Regions from separate parts of the Homo sapiens genome. Here regions 1, 2 and 4 are each linked to region 3. Evidence: promoter capture Hi-C in 16 types of primary human blood cells and fetal thymus (Javierre and others, 2016). All regions are on one chromosome and are shown on one strand. Each heading gives the region's core, a stretch centred on a gene start or on the middle of the fragment in contact. The rest is flanking DNA. Distances are from core to core; before and after follow the strand shown.

What was found. Contacts are between HindIII fragments. The CHiCAGO score rates a contact against its expected background, and 5 or more counts as called.
Region 1: a fragment that was not itself captured here is called in contact with the fragment with the promoter of CCDC89 in region 3 in 7 of 17 cell types (non-activated CD4 T cells, naive CD8 T cells, naive CD4 T cells and 4 more); the score reaches 13.3 in non-activated CD4 T cells.
Region 2: a contact is called between a fragment that was not itself captured here and the fragment with the promoter of CCDC89 in region 3, in 8 of 17 cell types (total CD4 T cells, naive CD8 T cells, non-activated CD4 T cells and 5 more). The highest score is 11.7, in total CD4 T cells.
Region 4: a fragment that was not itself captured here is called in contact with the fragment with the promoter of CCDC89 in region 3 in 9 of 17 cell types (total CD4 T cells, naive CD4 T cells, naive CD8 T cells and 6 more); the score reaches 11.9 in total CD4 T cells.

What each region holds. Positions count from the first base shown.
Region 1 is chr11:86,217,636-86,220,335 of GRCh38, forward strand. No RefSeq gene overlaps it. Among named protein-coding and RNA genes, the nearest start is that of LINC02695, 25 kb to the left of the region's middle. The HindIII fragment of the contact is 1,706 bases long and covers 596-2,301 here.
Region 2 is chr11:86,268,427-86,271,126 of GRCh38, forward strand. EED (embryonic ectoderm development) reads left to right here. Exons shown (of 12, transcript NM_003797.5): 9 at 30-135. Among named protein-coding and RNA genes, the nearest start is that of MIR6755, 8.6 kb to the right of the region's middle. The HindIII fragment of the contact is 6,326 bases long and covers 1-2,700 here.
Region 3 is chr11:85,684,905-85,687,604 of GRCh38, forward strand. It overlaps CCDC89 (coiled-coil domain containing 89), which reads right to left and starts at 1,291. Exons shown (of 1, transcript NM_152723.3): 1 at 1-1,291. The coding sequence starts at 1,226. The coding sequence ends at 102. RefSeq lists enhancers at 86-587, 588-1,087. The HindIII fragment of the contact is 2,434 bases long and covers 1-1,905 here.
Region 4 is chr11:86,287,141-86,289,840 of GRCh38, forward strand. It overlaps a transcript of EED not described here. Among named protein-coding and RNA genes, the nearest start is that of MIR6755, 10 kb to the left of the region's middle. The HindIII fragment of the contact is 5,987 bases long and covers 1-2,700 here.

The DNA.
Region 1 (2,700 bases), core at 199-2,698, 530 kb after region 3:
CCACCGTGGACTAAAACTAACAAAACTAACAATTTATGATATTGGCACCCTTCTTCCCTATGTCATTCACAGGTCTGCTTCATTCCTACGGATTAAACACCTCTCCAGGATCCTAGATTCAAGCCATTGCTTCTCGCATTTCCACCTTCTCACTCCTAAATTAAATGAGGGCTGGCTCTGTCCAAGAACACAATCTTTACTTTGTAGAGAAGGTATCTACCTCACAATTGGCTTTGCATTTCTCCAAATTCCAGACTTCTGCTGGCAGGATGTTCTAGTCCCAAAAGTGACTCCTGGCGAGGCCAGATTCTGTTCCCACCATAAGGGATGGAGCCTCACAAATATGCAGCTATGTGCCTTTGTAGTCTCAGCCTCTCAAGAGTACATTTTCTTTAGAAATAGTTATCCATCTCTGCCTGTTGGTAATCACTAATTAAAGGTTTGGGTAAGATTTCCTCGCAGCAAGAATCCTGCTATGAATTTCCTTCCTCCTAAATCTTAGTCCCTTGCGAGACCACACCAGATGCCAATCTTGTACAATTAGGAGGTGGATTCAGAATCTGCCAGGATTCTGAATCCTGCATGTGACTGCACAAGCTTCTCATCCAACACATACACAGAGGACGCTGGACAAACGCCTATGCTTTGCTGCCAGTTCATGCTGGGCTCCAAACCCTATCAGATCTCTTGCCTCAGCAGCTGGACTGAACAAAGTGGACTCCCTGAGGTTACTTTTGCCCTCCTGACTTGAGAACGTCCCAGACACCAATCCCAAGGCAGTGAAGAGATGAAAAGATGAAAGCATTACAAGAGTTAACAAAAGCCGAGTCGCCAGAGGTCACTGACGGGGAAAGTCTCTCAGCCCACTTCTGTTTATAACCACTTTATTCCTTCAACAGAATCCCCTGCAGAATCATTTCTCTAAAACCTCCATCTATATCTGAAATCCCCATTTTGTCCTGGAGTCTCTTCAGAGATCTTTTTTCTTTGGAAGGAAGGACGGAAGCCTTGAGCACCCCCTGGAGGTAGGCGTGTGCTAGTAAGCGTCTCCTTGGACTGTGGTTCTTTTTGTACCAGTTGGTAGTAGCTTTCGTACCAGTTCGTTGATACTTTTGTCACCTGGATTGCTGACTTTCGCTGGTTTCCAGTGCTGCCTCTAGGTGACCTATCTACAACTTCTATGACAGCTGACTGTCATAGGGGCTTCCACCTTCTTTGTATTCTAGCCTTGATAAGGGGAAGGATCCCTTGCCCTGCTGCAGAAATAAAACAGCCTGTTTCTCAGCCTTGTCCTCCATTTTCTCCTGTAAGACAGTTTGTTACTCATACAATTCTACTTGACATCTCTCCAACTTGCGTTGCTCCCTTCTTCTGTATCCTTATTACTGCTCTTCAATTTGTGTAAAATTATTGTCCTACCTTCAGCCCTTATCCTTATGAAAACCTTTTCCATTCTTTAAAAGCCCAGTTCACTGGCCACTTTCCCCACACCTACCTCTGAAATCCTGTAAAACTTATTTACAAAGTTCTTATCATACACTGCCTTGTATTTTAGTTATATCTGTATATATTATCTTACTGTATCCAACCAATTACCCAGCACGGTGTCTAAGATGCAGTATTCAGTTAATAATCATTAGATAAAAGTTGAATTAAGTTGTTGAGGGCTGTTTTCAAACACCCAATTTTCTAAGAATAGAGAAAACATTACTGTTAAAGATGAAAAAATACAAAGAAAGGAAGAAATAGAAGAAAGAGATGGGGCAGACAGAGATACAGGAAAGAATGGTGACTATGTAACTATAAGTCATGACGAATTCTCTCCTGAGAATACCAGTATGTTATAGAAAGAACACTGACTAAGTGTCAGAAAACTCAGCTCAAGTCCCATTTGGTTTTTAATGAACTGAATGATCACTAACCTACTCTCTGGGCCTCAGCGTTTTCTCTAAAGAACCAAAGCAGTGGGTTATATGACCTCTGAAGTTTATTACCATGTTGACATTGTATGACCATCTCTCTATTCAAGCATAGTGGTAGGATGGCGCTCAGATTGCACCTGTCACAGAGACTGGCATACTATGTGTGCTAATAAGTGCCAGTTCCTCTTTTCTTCGCACATAATGGAAATATTCTGCAACATTCTCAATTTTAATAAGGAGAAAAGTTCATCTTTATCCATTGAGGATAACATGGTAAAAGAGAATTGTACTACGTATTTAATTTAATTTTATGGAAGAATTTTTCAGTGGTTAAGTCTATTTTTAATTCCAGGTCTTGCCATATGCTGTTTCAAGGGGAAGCTTCTATTCTACAACAAACTACTTTTTGAGTCAAATGAAGAACTGAAAAATAGTTAGGCTTAAACAAATTCTTAGTCAACCACATCATGGTCTGGAAAGACACAAAAATCATTTGGCAAAGATTGCTCTAAATACAGTGAGAAAGGAGAAAGGCAGCAGGTGATGCCAATCAAAAAGGAGAATGCACTTTGGGAGGCTGAGGCGGGTGGATCACAAGGTCAGGAGATCGAGACCATCCTGGCTAACACAGTGAAACCCTCTCTCTACTAAAAATACAAAAAATTAGCCAGGCGTAATGGCGGGCGCCTGTAGTCCCAGCTACTCCGGAGGCTGAGGCAGGAGAATGGTGTGAACCCGGGAGGCAGAGGTTGCAGTGAGCTGAGATGGCGCCACTGAA
Region 2 (2,700 bases), core at 17-2,516, 580 kb after region 3:
AACTTTTTACATTTCCATTCTTCCTTCAGGCCATTTATTTCTCAGAAAATCCATTTTCCTGATTTTTCTACCAGAGACATACATAGGAATTATGTTGATTGTGTGCGATGGTTAGGCGATTTGATACTTTCTAAGGTATGGTAACTGCAGTTAAGCTGTACTTCCATCGTGTGTGTGTGTGTGTGTGTGTGTGTGTGTGTATGTGTGTGCGCATGTTGGAACTTGGCAGGGAGCACTTTATGTAGTTTATTAAATTGAATGGCAGCTGGGAAGTTGCCTTTTTTAAAGTCTCATATTTTGATATATTTAGAAACTTGTTTTAAGAATAAAACATGCCATTGAATTATAATTCTTTGTGCTCCAGTAAGATGAGTATAGTTTTATAAGGTGATAGTATTCTCTGATAGTCAGTATTGTTACAAGATAACCAGTAACTAAAGCCAACAGAATTGGCTTTTGTTTTTTTGTATCTCTGTGACTATTTTAGTAAAATTTTATTTATAAAAACAGGTGGCTGGAGTTGGCTTATGGGCTGTAGTTTGCCAACCCCTGCCCCTGTTGATGGATTTATACAGATGCTCCTCAACTTATGATGGGATTACATCGTGATAAACCCATCATAAATTGAAAACGCATTTAATACACATAACCTACTGAATATCAGCTTAGCCCAGCCTATCTTAAATGTGCTCAGAATTAGCCTACAGTTGGGCAAAATTATCTAACACAAAGCCTGTTTTATAATAAAGCATTGAATATCTCACATACTGCATACTGCTAGCCCAGGAAAAGATCAAAATTCAAAATTCCAAGTACTTCAAAATTGCAGCTGTTTTGTACCATTTTGGTAAAGTTGAAAAATTGTAAATCAGACCATTGTAAGTCAAGGCCATCTGGGTGTGTGTGTGTGTGTGTTTGTGTGTCTGTGTATTTTTTTGTAGCTGATAATTTAGAGAAGCTATTGGTGATGTTACATGAGCATTTAGGATTATCAAATTTGGTGAAATTGCTGTCCGGTTTCTTTTCTTGATGTGAATTTCAGGCCACTTCACATTTTCTTGGGCAGAGCCTGATTTACTTTTTTCTTGGCTTTATGTGTAAACTGTTTTTTTCTTTTTTCTTTAAACTTTTGACCTTCAAATAACTTGATTCATAGGATGTTTCAAAGATTGTGCAGAGAGGTCCCATATGATCTTTATCCAGAATCCAAAGTTTATATATTATATAACTGTAATACAATATCAAATCCAGAAAATTGACACTGGTACAATGTGTGTGTTTAGTTTTATGTCATTTTATCACGTGAATTTTGTCATTTCAAGAATGGTACAGTTTGGGACCTTTTAAGATTGTTTTTTTCCACTCAAACCCTTGAGATCCATCCAGGTTGTTGCCTGTATCAGTAGTTCTCCTTTTTTATTGCTGAGTAGTATTCCATGGTATGGATTACCATAGTTTATGTAACTATCTATGGTAGGAGGTTTTGGTCATTTCCAGTTCTGGGCTATTGCAAATAAAGCTGCTAATCAGCAGTTGTGTCCAGGTTTTTGTGTGGACTTAAGTTTTCATTTCTCTGGGTAAATGCCTAGGAGGGCAATTGCTGGGTTGTGGTTAAGTTTGTTTAGTTTTTTAAGAAACTGCCAAACTATTTTCCAGAGTGGCCGTGCCATTTTACATTCCCACCAGCAATGTATGAGAGATCCAGTGTCTCCGAATCTTCGCCAGCATTTGGTATTGTCATTATTTTTTATTTTAGCTGTTCTGATAGGTGTGTAGTGATATCTCATCGTGGTCTTAATTTGCATTTCCCTGATGGCTAGTGATGTTGAACATCTTTTTCATGTGCTTATTTACCATTCGTATATCCTTTTTGGTGATGTCTTTTCATATCTTTTGCTCATTTTCTAATTGGATTGGTTTTTTGTTGTGTTTTTTTTTTTTTTTTAACTGTTGAGTTTTGAGAGTTTGAATATATTCTAAATATGAATCCTGTATCAGATACATAGTTTGCAAATATTTTCTTTCAGTCTGTAGCTTGTCATTTCATCCTCTTTAATAGGGTCTTTCACAGAGCAAATGTTTGTAGTTTTTATTAAATCCAGTATATTGATTTTTTAAAATTATTTTATGGATTATGCTTTTGATGTTTTGCCTGAGAACTCCTTACCAAGCTATAGACCTTAAAGATTTTCTCCTGTGTTCTCTTGTAAAAGTTTTATACTGCTATGTTTTACATTAAATGTGTAATCCATTTTGAGTTGATTTCCTTATGAAGGTGCGAGGTTTAGGTGGAAGTTCATTTTTCTCTTATAGATACTCAGTTGTTCCATCAGCATTTGTTGGAAGACTATTCTTCCGCCATTGAATTGCTTTTGCACCTCTCTCAGAAATTGTTTGGCTGTACTTACGTGGGGCTGTTTTTGATTTTCCTGTTCTGTTTCATCTGTATATCTGTCCCTCCACCAGTACTACATACACAGTCCTCATTATTGTAGCTCTATAATTATTCTTGGAATCTGATAGATTTTTCCCGCTTTTATTTTTTTCATAATTGTTTTGAGCTATTCTAATTCCTTTGTCTTTCTGTGTGTAAATTTTAGAATAATCTTTTCTACATTTCTAAAAATCTTGCTGGGAGTTGTTTTGAGGAGAAGGAGTTTTTAACTGGATTTGTATTAAACCTGTATATATAATTTCAAG
Region 3 (2,700 bases), core at 41-2,540:
TTGAAAGTATAATAAATGGGATATCATCTTTACTCTTGCCATAATGCTAAGACGCAAATATTTGAATTCTGAATTGCAGGCCAGAGGAAGCAGAAACTTCCCTATGGAGAGAGATGGCGGAGTTTGCCATTGAGTTCTCTCTCCTTGCTTAAAAGATCCAAGCTGTGCTTTTTGAAGGCTTCAGACTGCAGCCTGAGTTCATCGTAGGCCTTCTGGATCCCATCTACTTTGCGCTGAAGCTCCCTGACTCTCAAGTTGCTGTCCACAGCCACTGCCTCTTGCTCAAACCGCTCCAGCGCATGCTTCCTGTCTTCATTTGCTATCTCCAACTTTTCCTCAAGCTGGCAGATCTCTGCCTGTTTGTTCTGAAGCACTTTGCCCCTTTCAATGGACAGCTGCAGCAACTCCTCTTTCTCTCTAGTGACGGTCTGCAGCCTGGCCTGCAGCTCCTGGCTCAGGCTGCTGTGTGTCTCCTCTGCCTTAGCTATCTGCTCCACAGCCTGCTGGTGCTGCTGCTTGAGGGTCTGCAGCTGGCTGCGCAGCTGTTCTGTCTCCTTGGTGTGGGTGCAGGCCTGCTGGCTCTGTAGCTCCAGCAGCTCCTTCTCGCGCGCCTGTGCCTGGCAGGCATCCTGAGCACACCTCTCCTTCAGCGTTTCTAGCTCCCCAGTGAGGGCCTCACACCGGACTGTGAGCTGTAATACTTTCGCCTCCTCATCCTTCAGAGCCTGGCTGAAGAGGCTGCTATTCTCCAGCCTCAGCTTCTCATTCTCCTCCCTCAGCTTGATGTTCTCACTCTTGTATTCATCCTTGAAGCGGAGCATCAACTCGTGGTTGGCTGCTAGGGTCATAAAGCGTTCCTCTAGTTTCCGACTGTACTCACCCTGGGCCTTGAGCTTCTCAGCCTCCTGCATCATCTTCTCCTCCAGCTCTGCATTGAGCAGCTCTAGGATCTGGCAGCGCTCCAGGGCCTCATCTGACCTCCGCTTCAGGATGCAGATGAGCTGGGACTGCTCTTCAATGCGGGAGCGAAGCATAGCCTTCTCGCTCCTCTCCTCCTCTGACAGTCCCCGGAGGTTTGCCAAGGCTTCCCTCAGACCGTCCAGTTCCTTAAACTCCGTCTCCTCTTCCTGGTTGTTCAGTTTTTCATTTTGCTTCTCTAAGCGTTCTTCAGGGGGCGGGGTGTCCATCCTGGGAGCCTGCTGTTTCTGGAGCATAGGCGCTCTCATCCACTAAGGGCTGACTACAGTCTTTTCCCCTCAGATTTCAAACGCTGCAGGGTGTTGCTAGGGACTCTTGGCACTCCCCAGCAGTTGGTTTTTCCAGTAAGGAGCCCTGTAATTGGTGGACAGGTCTTCAGAATGCTATGAAGTAACAACAGGGGAATCTGGGGGAGTCCAGAGCCAATCTGGTCGGGTTACTTTTGCCTTTCTAACCAATCACAGCTCTCAGTTGTCAACTGTCTCAGTGTCTGGCCTGTACAGCACAGAGATGCCAACCCCACTCAATCTCCAGCCAGCATCAGGGGAGGAAGCCTGACTCCACCTAATTTCTGGTAGTAGTAAACAAATGAAGCAGGCAATGATATATTTATCCTCCCTCTCCCCTCTTCAGTTATCGTTTGAATAAATTACTGTTTGTGGAAACATGGTTGGCTCCTCAAAAAATTTCAGTCTATGAATACAAAGTAGTAGTGGTATTCTGAGAGCCAGGACCCTAAAAGCCTGCATATCTGCACCCGTGATGTTTGGCACAGCTCCCTTTTGGTATTTAAGTATTAAAATAGAAAACACCAGTGAAATTTCTTTTGTTGTTCTTAGCATTGTCCCCACCTGGGCATAAATACTCTTTATTAGATATTTAACACCCCCTGTTTTTACCCATTAGCAAAATAAGGTTACAGAAAGAAGCTTAGTGAACCACACAGATAAACATTAAAACAGAAAAAATAAGATTCAAATGAAGCTTGCCATTATATGCCAAAGTCAACTCCTGATAGATTAGTTAAATGTAAACAGAAACTAGAAGAAAATGAAGGTAAACATCAAATCTCTGGGGCTAGGAAGGATTTTTTTTTTATCTTAAACATTATGTAAGATCAGAAAGGGAAAGCTTACTCAAAAAGTTATGTATAATTTTTTAAATTATGTGACTTCTGAGGTCTCTCCAGCCCCTTCTTCCACTGGATTTTCTTGACATTTTACTCCTCAAACCCAAATATTGAAGCCAAACCCAAATCCACTAACCAGCTCTCTCGCCCTATCTTTAGGTGTTCCTCTACTTGGAATGCCTTTCCTACTTTGTCCCTTGTCACTCTAGTAAAGCTTTTTATTCTTAGTTAAGAATCGTCTCTGAAGCCTATTCCTGGCCCCTACATGTCCAATTGGTCACTCACATCTTTTAGTGCATCCGCTATAGCTATTTGTACTTCTGGTGGAGGATGTGAAAATTTTATTGCAGTCACTGTTTATCTGCCAGCTTCCCTCTGTTAGACTGTAAGATCCTTAAGGGCAGGGACTGTGTCTATTTCATCCTTGATGATTAGACTAGTGCCTGGCACATGGGGGAGATTCAGATAAATGTGTATTAAGTGGATGTTGAAGGTAAAAATCAAATTGAGAAAAATATCCCTAATATGACAGACACTACTTTTTTTTTTTTTTTTTTTTTTTTTTTGAGACAGAGTCTCCCTCCATCGCCCAG
Region 4 (2,700 bases), core at 77-2,576, 600 kb after region 3:
TTCACAACCTGCCCATGGATCTCAGCCTGCAGTGTGAAACACAGTAACCTAGGGAAAATGAGTCTAGATGGCTTTTACCAAGGGTAGTGGAAGTGGGGCCCACATTGTGAGAAATACAACCATAAGTAAAAAGTGCTAAATGGCCTCTCTTTAACCAGAGACCACAGTCTGTAACTTCCCCTGCTTTCAGTGGTTACCTCTGGGTTTCCCCTGTTGTGATTTATAGAAAATGACTATCACTTTGGAATTGAGCTGGTGGATTTCTACAAAGATTCTTGGTATTTCATGGTTATTTTCTGATGTAGAGCAAGACTTCATGTGAATGAAAGCAGATTCATTTTGCCTTTCTTGCTTGGGTACCCCAGGCTGATGTGGAATAAAAAATTGTTGGGTGATTTCTCTTACATTTCTGCATAATGAGTGAGGGAAGTGTGTGTGTTTAATTCCGAAACCAATAAACTGGGTTGCCAGAAAATCATTGATCATAAGAAGTGTATGGCACTGAACTGACACCCTGTGCTATATGGGCCATTATTTTTCTTCATTGCAAAATCACTATTTTTTATTTATTTATTGTTTTTGAGACAGAGTTTTGCTCTTGTTGCCCAGGCTGGAGTGCAATGGCGCAATCTCAGCTCATGGCAACCTGTGCCTCCTGGGTTCAAGCGATGCTCCTGCCTCAGCGTCCTGAGTAGCTGGGATTACAGGCATGCGTCTCCATGCCTGAATTTTGTATTTTTAGTAGAGATGAGGTTTCTACATATGGGTCAGGCTGGTCTCGAACTCCCGACCTTGACCTCCCAAAGTGCTGGGATTACAGGCATGAGCCACCGCGCTCAGCCATGCAAAATCACTTTTTAAACTGTTAATATTTCATATAAGAAAGGCTTGGCTTATCTTACTGAATCTGGTTGCAAATTGTCTTAATAATCCCAGTTCTGAATAGCAACCTGCAGGGGATGGTGGCTCAGGCCTGTAATCCCAGCACTTTAGAAGGCTGATGCAGGAAGATCACTTGAGCCCAAGAGTTTGAGACCAGCCCTGGCAACATAGCGAGATTCCATCTCTACAAAAAACAACTAGCCAGGTGTGGTGGCACATGCCTGTAGTCTTAGCTGCTTGGAAGGCTGAGGCAGGAGGATCGCTTGAGCCTTGAGCCATGATCCCGCCACTGCACTCCAGCTCTGGTGACAGAGCGAGACCCTGACTCTAATGAAAAATAATAAAATGAATAACTTATGTAAGAGTTCTGCATTATTCCCCTTAATCCCTGAGTAAATCTGGCTGAAATACAGAGTTTGTGACCCTTGGGAAGTCAAAACTCTCTGTGAAGGACCCTTCAAAATACTTTTTTGCCTTTGCTCTAAAATGTTAGCTCCTAGTAGACAGGAGAGAATCATTTATTCATGTATTTAATTGGCCAGGTGTGCAAAGCACTGTATTAGTGATGGCCCTATATAGACCTTTATTATGCAGTGGTTCCCACATGTGAAAAGAGTGAATGTACCATAATCATTTAGGGAGTATTTTAATAATAAACTCTCAAAAGTTTTGCTAAACTGCAATTTTATATTGGCTGGGCACAACACAAAACAGCCCAAAGTAGATATAATTATATAAAGTTGATTTCAGCCCAGCCCAGCCCAACTTTCCACAGTCAACTTGAAATTTTCTCACTGTTACTAACTGGTGTCTTTCAAACCCATGTCCAAGGTTACGGGTGGGAGTGGTAGAGAATTGTCACTAGCTCTGCCGCCTATTGAATTGCTTCTGTGTCTAGGATTTAGCAGTTCCTGTCCCAGACTGGGGCCTGACTCAGCTTTCTGCCAGGACTCTTCTCGTCTGTGGCTGTGCTTTCTAGTCTTCTGGGCCATAATCAAGGCCAGTACATCCAAGACGCCAGCTGTGAACAGACTAGGATTTGATAGGGCCCCTCACTGTCTGATGCCTCTTTCTGGTGGCCTTGCCAGGTTTAGAACAGGCAGCCTGCTAGGCTGCCTTCCTGGTAGTAGAGGCTTTCCAGGTAGTCAGGCTGCTTTCTACATGCATGATGTTGGGCTCAGTTAATATTTGTAAAACAAATGTCCTCTGGAAAGGGCTCTGCCTTTCTGAGTTACTGCCTCTCTTCTACCTCCTTTAATGACCTGCTCATTTTAGCATCTCATTGAAATGCACACATCTTGTGGTTTCCTATGCTCTAAAATCAGTGCCAGACTAAGAGCTCTTCAAACAGGAGCCTTTCCCCCCTCCCCGTCCTTTTTTTTTTTTTTTGAGACAGAGTATCACTCTGTCGCCCAGGCTGGAGTGCAGTGGTACGATCTCCATTCACTGAAACCTCTGCCTCCTGGGTTCAAGAAGTTCTCCTGTTTCAGCCTCCCAAGTAGCTGGGACTACAGGTGCACACCACCACGCCCAGCTAATTTTTGTATTTTTAATAGAGTCGGGGTTTCACCATATTGGTCAGGCTGGTCTCGAACTCCTGATCTCAGGTGATCCACCCGCCTTGGCCTCCCAAAGTGCTTGGATTACATGCATGAGCCACCGCGCCTGGCCCTTTCCTTATTTTTTGAATGCCCGTTGCTTAACACACTATATGACTCATAATAGACATTCAAAGAAATGTCAAATGAATGAAAAAATCAGCTAAACAATCTTTGCTTAAGTGAATTTCTGATGATTTTCAGGCTATATAGAAGAGAG